Linked DNA regions of Homo sapiens: region 2 is linked to region 1. Evidence: promoter capture Hi-C in human tissues and cell types (Jung and others, 2019). All regions are on one chromosome and are shown on one strand. The core of a region is centred on a gene start or on the middle of the fragment in contact, and the rest is flanking DNA. Distances in the headings are between cores, read along the strand shown. Region 1 holds the start of DENND4C (DENN domain containing 4C). Region 2 overlaps ACER2 (alkaline ceramidase 2).

Region 1 (3,071 bases), core at 490-2,989:
AGTGCAATGGCGCAATCTCGGCTCTCTGCAACCTCCGCCTCCCAGGTTCAAGCCATTCTCCTGCCTTAGCCTCCCGAGTAGCTGGGATTACAGGCATGCACCACCACGCCCGGCTAATTTTGTATTTTTAGTAGAGACAGTGTTTCTCCATGTTGGTCAGGCTGGTCTGGAACTCTCGACCTCAGGTGATCCGCCCGCCTCAGCCTCCCAAAGTGCTGGGATTACAGACGTGAACCACCGCGTCCGGCCCACAAGCTAAATTTTGAAGTATTAGATCCTTTCTTAAACTTTTGCTCTTCGGATTGTCAATGTCAAAGATAGTTTCCAGGGGGACCAAATTGGCCCCAAACTGTTATTAAATAAGCCTTAACTTTTATTGCTGCGCATTTCTTCTGAAATCAATTCTGACTGCTTACGTGGTTAGAAAAATAGTTTCTGCTATTGAATATAAAACTCAAATTATCCATGGCTATGCAATAAACTTCAGAAATAAATGGACAGCAGTGCATTTATGACCCAGGTATAATCTCACATTTTTATGCAAAAATACAGATTAAATAAGGAGAGTGTAATTTTCAGGAAAATGATTATTTATGTGGATACTCACCAGATATGCAGAAATCTTACCAGTTCTGATTTTGACCTGCCATGGAATCTGAAGTCATTCGCCTTTTTTTCCCCCCAGAGGTAAAAAAGTTATCTCTACTTCAAACCATTTCCTTCTTCCTAAATAACTAGTAATTGCTTTTTCATTTACTATGATAACTCAAAAACGTTGTTCAAAAATATCCTGCAAAATTTGCATTATAGAGAAACGACTCTGCAGGCGTCTGTGTCGATAATGAGGCTACACTTAGGAGGCGTGAGGGTACTGACTATGCAAATGAGCGATTTCTCCATTAGGAATTCCCATCCCCAAATCTGGGCCGAAGGAGAGACACCGAGCGCGGCCAGGGACTCACATGGTGCACTGGAGCCAAGGGGTTTCGGGAAGGGCCAGCGCGCGGGTCTCTCTAGAGCCCTCTACTCATGCGTGGGAATTCCAGATTCCTTCCCTGGGAAGGAATCTTCACGTATCTCCCGGCACTGTCCTCAGTGACCTTCAGCCACTCGGCATCACTTTCCCTGTCTTTGAAAACTCCGAGAGAAGCAGCCGCCACCTGCCTCAGGCCAAGGCAATAAACCCACATCACACCGCCAGTCTGAGCCCTGCAGGAAGGGGTGCACAGCGGCCTCCAGAGCGCTTTCTCCCCAGCTCTGTTTCTGCAGGCTCGGCCGCGCGAACGCTGAGGAGGGGATCGGAGGCCCGCAAGGCTCAGACCCCGCGCCCCGCGGGGGTCGCACAGGGGTCGGGCGGGGGAGGGGAGCGGTGGCTGCAGGGCCTCGGCCCTCCCCGGGGGAGGGGCCTGAGCACCGCACCGCCCCCCTCCTCCCTGCGTCTTCTCCCTCCCACCCCCCGCCCTTTTCCACCCGCCCCCGCAGGAGGAAAGGGAGAGGGAGGGGGAAAAGAAAGTGCTGTTTTGTGGAAAGGGGCGGAAGGCGGGGGAGAAAAAGGGAACAGAAACATGGCGGTCAGGTCTTGGGACGGCTGCGCCGCGGGCAGCTCCTAGGCGACGCGCCGCCCGCACTGTCCGACGGCTCACAGCGCGGAGGCACCCGCGCGGGCCAGCGCTCCGGCCATCGCCCCTGGCTGTAGGCGGCGCCCCTCGGAGACCCTGCCCGCGAGGCGGCGCAGGCGCAGACCGGACTGAGGCGGCGGCGGCCGCTGGAGCTAGTCCCCCGCCCTGCCCTGCCGAGCGCGCCCAGTCCGCGAATCCGGTGCTTTCTTGCCCCAGGAAGAAGCCGTGTCGGGGCTGCGCTGACAGAGGAGCAGGCAGCAGGTGAGGCTGCGGCGCGGGGCCTTTGGCGGAGGAAGCCTGCGCCGTGCCCTCGCGGGGCCTGCGCTGCAAGGCTGGGAGGGCGCGGGACAGGTAGAGCCCGGAGGGCTGAGTTCCGAGTGGCTGGCCCGCGGGGGGTCGCCGAGGAGGCGGAGAGTGGCCGCGGCTGGCGTTCGTGGCCTAGTTTCTCCGCGGTTTCCGGGGGCGGGGAGTCCCCGGATCCTGCGGGATGCAGTCGGGGAAAGGCTGCCCCTGAAGAGCCTCCCCGCGTCGCCCGCCGGGCCCATGAGAATCGTTTGCGTACAAGCGCGAGGGGTCTGGGCCCGGGGGACCGCCGGGGCGACGGCCGCTTTGGTGGGGGCCGGGGTGCGGAGGGAGCAGGATCGGGGCTTCCCAGAGGGGGTCGAGGCTGAGAGAGCGGAGAGCTAGAGCCAGGGGTGGCGGGCAGTCTCGAGAGGAGTCGGGGGACTGAGAAGTGTCGGGGACAACGGGGAGGAGGGGGACCTGGGCAGGTGTCTCTGGTGAATTGAAGACATTTCCTTCTCTGTCTTACGGTGGCCGATCCTCAGGGCTTCTTTGTCGGGGATGACTTTCTAGGAGGGCAGTATCCTTTTAACTCTGGAGTGACTAAACACAAAACCAAGGAATGAAGTCCTAAGGCTGACTCCTGTAAAGAGCTGTAACTTTTTCTGTTTTAAGAATGCTGTCACGTCTTTTTTTTTTTCCTCCCCTTTTCTGCTTGATAGACCTTTTCCCTCTCGAAGACCGTCTTTTATCTGCACTAATAAGGAATTACCCAGTTTTTAAATAGTACCGCCTCCTTCTCCCCTTATGTATGTTTGTCACACGGGAAAATTTAGGGTAGTTACCGCGGGTACTTGTGCAAATTTGAGGGAAAGTGTCATTTCCAGTAGTGAACCCTCAGCTGTCTCTTTGTGCCTCCGAGATACTGTCAAGCGTTGTAGCCTGAGAAATTGACCCACTGAGCCTGCTTAATTGTGTGCAAACCCGTGTTGAGGCGTTCTTCCTAGGCCCTAATTTACGTAGGAATAGGTTTTCCCTTCCGGTCTGTGTATAATGAGAGGGGAGAACGTTAGTGCTAAGGCGCTAAGTTCTGGATAAATACTTGATTTGATGTGATAGTGTGTATTACTCTATCAGAAATGCAGAGCGTTGTATGATTTTTCTGTGTAC
Region 2 (3,043 bases), core at 78-2,577, 200 kb after region 1:
TTGAAATTCCAAGGGACAGTTTTTAATGTATTCCTTATAGAAAACCTTTTTTTTCTTTTCTTTTCTTGATTCTTGGAGGTAGGGGGAAAGTTGTTTGAGCAGGAAAGAAGAAAATGGGGTGATGACATTGGTAGTTAAAGCTTACCAACTTTAATAATGAAAACAGAGCCAGTTGGGGTGGTGCACGCCTGTAGTCCCAGCCACTCAAAAAGCTGAGGCAGGAAGATCTCTTGAGCCCAGCGTGGGCAACACAGTGAAACCCCATTAAAAAAATAGAAAAAAAATAATGAAAGCATATTGTGAGGCAGAGTTGTCTGTGACTATTGGGACTTTTTCATCACCAGCAGCCTGCAGCATTTCTCTGGGGAAGATGTGAAGATATAGCCACTCTGTCCTCCTTTGGAGGCACTGGGTACCATATGTGTATATATCCCTGGCTTTGGAAGCAATCTGGGTTTGAATCCTAGCTTTACAACTTGCAGACTGTATGACTTGTCTTGACTCTTTCTATTTCCCTATCTGTAAAATTAGGTAAACAATAGTGTTCATCTTTGAGACGATCCTGTAGGGCACTTAGCATAATACTAAGCAACATGGAGAGGGCTCAGTCAAAGTTAGCTCTCCTGACTGCCTGGGGCATGGAGAGGAGAGTTCTGCCTAGCATTTCTGAGATATGCATACAAATCGATGGAGATAATGTACATTGACAATTTTAATGAGCAAAGAAATAAAAGGTACATGTTAAGGGAAAAGTAAAAAAGGATTTCAAGTCTATTTGCACATCTTCAATTTTCCAGTGACCAGGGAGGGCAAGAAGGCCAAGCCCCTTTGCTTGTACTTCACTCCCCATGACACGGGACAGGTGGCAGCTCTGCAGTGGAAGTGGCAGACCAGACCAAAAAATTCATGTCAAAACCAGGATTTCTGTAGATCAGGGATTTCCGGTTTTTCTGCCTGAACTTACCAAATAGTAAACGTTTATCTCCTTTTCTTTCTTTCTCCCTTCCCTCCCTCCCCCCCTCCTTTCTTTTCTCTTCTCTTCTCTTCTCTTCTCTTTTCTTTCTTTTCTCTGAGACGGACTGTCTCTCTGTTGCCCAGGCTGGAGTGCTGTGGCACAATCTGGTCTCACTGCAAGCTCCACTTCCTATGTTCACGCCATTCTCCTGCCTCAGCCTCCCGAGTAGCTGGGACTACAGGCGCCCGCCACCACGCCTGGCTAATTTTTTGTATTTTTAGTAGAGATGGGGTTTCACCATGTTAGCCAGGATGGTCTCGATCTCCTGCCCTTGTGATCTGCCCACATTGGCCTCCCAAAGTGCTGGGATTACAGGTGTGAGCCATCATGCCCTTCCTTTCCTTTCCTTTTTCCTTTTTCCTTTCCTTTCCTTTTTCCTTTTTCCTTTCCTTTCCTTTCCTTTCCTTTCCTTTCCTTTCCTTTCCTTTCCTTTCCTTTCCTTTCCTTTCCTTCTCTCTCTCTCTCTCTTTCTTTCTCTTTCTTTTCTTTTCTTTTTTTCTTGATCTAGACTTTGCTGGAATATTCTTTTTTGTTTCATTTTGTTTTTTCTTTTTTTGAGACAGAGTTTCACTCTTATTGCCCGGGCTGGAGTGCAATAGTACGATCTCGGCTCACTGCAACCTCTGCCTCCCAGGTTCAAGTGATTCTCCTGCCTCAGCCTCCCGAGTCGCTGGGATTCCAGGTGCATGTCACCACATGTGGCTAATTTTTGTATTTTTAGTAGAGACGGGGTTTTGCCATGTTGGCCAGGCTGGTCTCGAACTCCTCACCTCAGGTGATCTGCCTGCCTTGGCCTCCCAAAGTACTGGGATTACAGGTATGAGCCACCATATCTGGCCTTTGCTGGAATATTCTAAACACACATTAAAAACAGTTTTAATGTGAGATTTTTGGAGAAGAGACAGGAGAGTGTGGTGGCTAAGTAAGTTTGGATCAGACAACATGGCTTTGAATAACAATTAACCTAAAAAAAAAAGGCTCTGGGACCCTGTTTTGCTTGTCTATAAATTGGAGATGACAAAAGTATCTTCCTGATGGGATCAGAAATACATGGGAAAATTACGTAAGGCCTATAGTACAATGGCTCACACAGAGTAAAGACTCAGTAAGTTCTGGTGGTTATTATGAATGGCTTATGGACAAGTGGGTTTTTTTTTTTTTTTTTTTTTTTTTTTTTTTGAGATGAAGTCTTGCTCTGTCACCCAGGCTAGAGAGCGGTGGTGCGATCTTGGCTGACTACAACCTCTGCCTCCTGGGTTCAAATGATTCTCCTGCCTCAGCCTCCCAAGTAGCTAGAATTACAGGCACTTGCCACCATGCCCAGCTAATTTTTGTATTTTTAGTAGAGACAGGGTTTCACCAGGTTGGCCAGGCTGGTCTCGAACTCCTGACCTCATGATCCGCTCGCCTCGGCCTCCCAAAGTGCTGGGATTACAGGCATGAGCCACTGTGCCTGGCCTGAATTTTTTATTGATATGTAATAGTTGTACATATTTTATGTAGGGAAATTATTAATGTTCATTATGTCAATAGGATATAAATGTTGGGTTTATAGAAAAAAACTTTCTTTCATCTTGCCTAAAATGTCCTGAGACTCTTTAGGACATATACTGAATTGCTGATGGTTATTAATAATTTTTAGAGTTTTTATTTTAAGAAAAAAATGAGAACAAGGAACTATTATAGGCTAATTGTATCTACTTTTTTTGTTTTGTTTTTTGGAGACAGGATCTCACTCTGTTGCCCAGGCTGGAGTGCAGTGGCACAGTCATGGCTCACTGCAACCTCTGCTTCCTGCGCTCAAGTGATCCTCCTACCTCAGCCTTCCAAGTGGCTGGGACCACAGCTGCCTGTCACTGCACCTGGCTAATTTTTGTATTTTTTGTAGAGACAAGGTTTTACCATGTTGCCCAGGCTGGTCTCAAACTCCTGGGCTCAAGAGATACTCCCACCTTGGCCTCCCAAAGTTCTGGGATAACAGGCATGAGCCACTGTGCCCAACCTTGTATCCACTTCTTAAATAATTTA

Evidence for each region. Contacts are between HindIII fragments. The study calls those that stand out against the background at their distance.
Region 2: a fragment that was not itself captured here is called in contact with the fragment with the promoter of DENND4C in region 1 in 1 of the 25 tissues and cell types used here (H1 embryonic stem cells).

What each region holds. Positions count from the first base shown.
Region 1 is chr9:19,228,954-19,232,024 of GRCh38, forward strand. It overlaps DENND4C (DENN domain containing 4C), which reads left to right and starts at 1,740. Exons shown (of 33, transcript NM_001330640.2): 1 at 1,740-1,880. RefSeq lists enhancers at 898-1,147, 1,532-2,038, 2,039-2,544 and silencers at 1,178-1,477, 1,558-1,927, 2,148-2,287. The HindIII fragment of the contact is 7,148 bases long and covers 1-3,071 here.
Region 2 is chr9:19,426,614-19,429,656 of GRCh38, forward strand. The region is part of intron 3 of ACER2 (alkaline ceramidase 2); the gene reads left to right. Among named protein-coding and RNA genes, the nearest start is that of ACER2, 19 kb to the left of the region's middle. The HindIII fragment of the contact is 4,283 bases long and covers 1-3,043 here.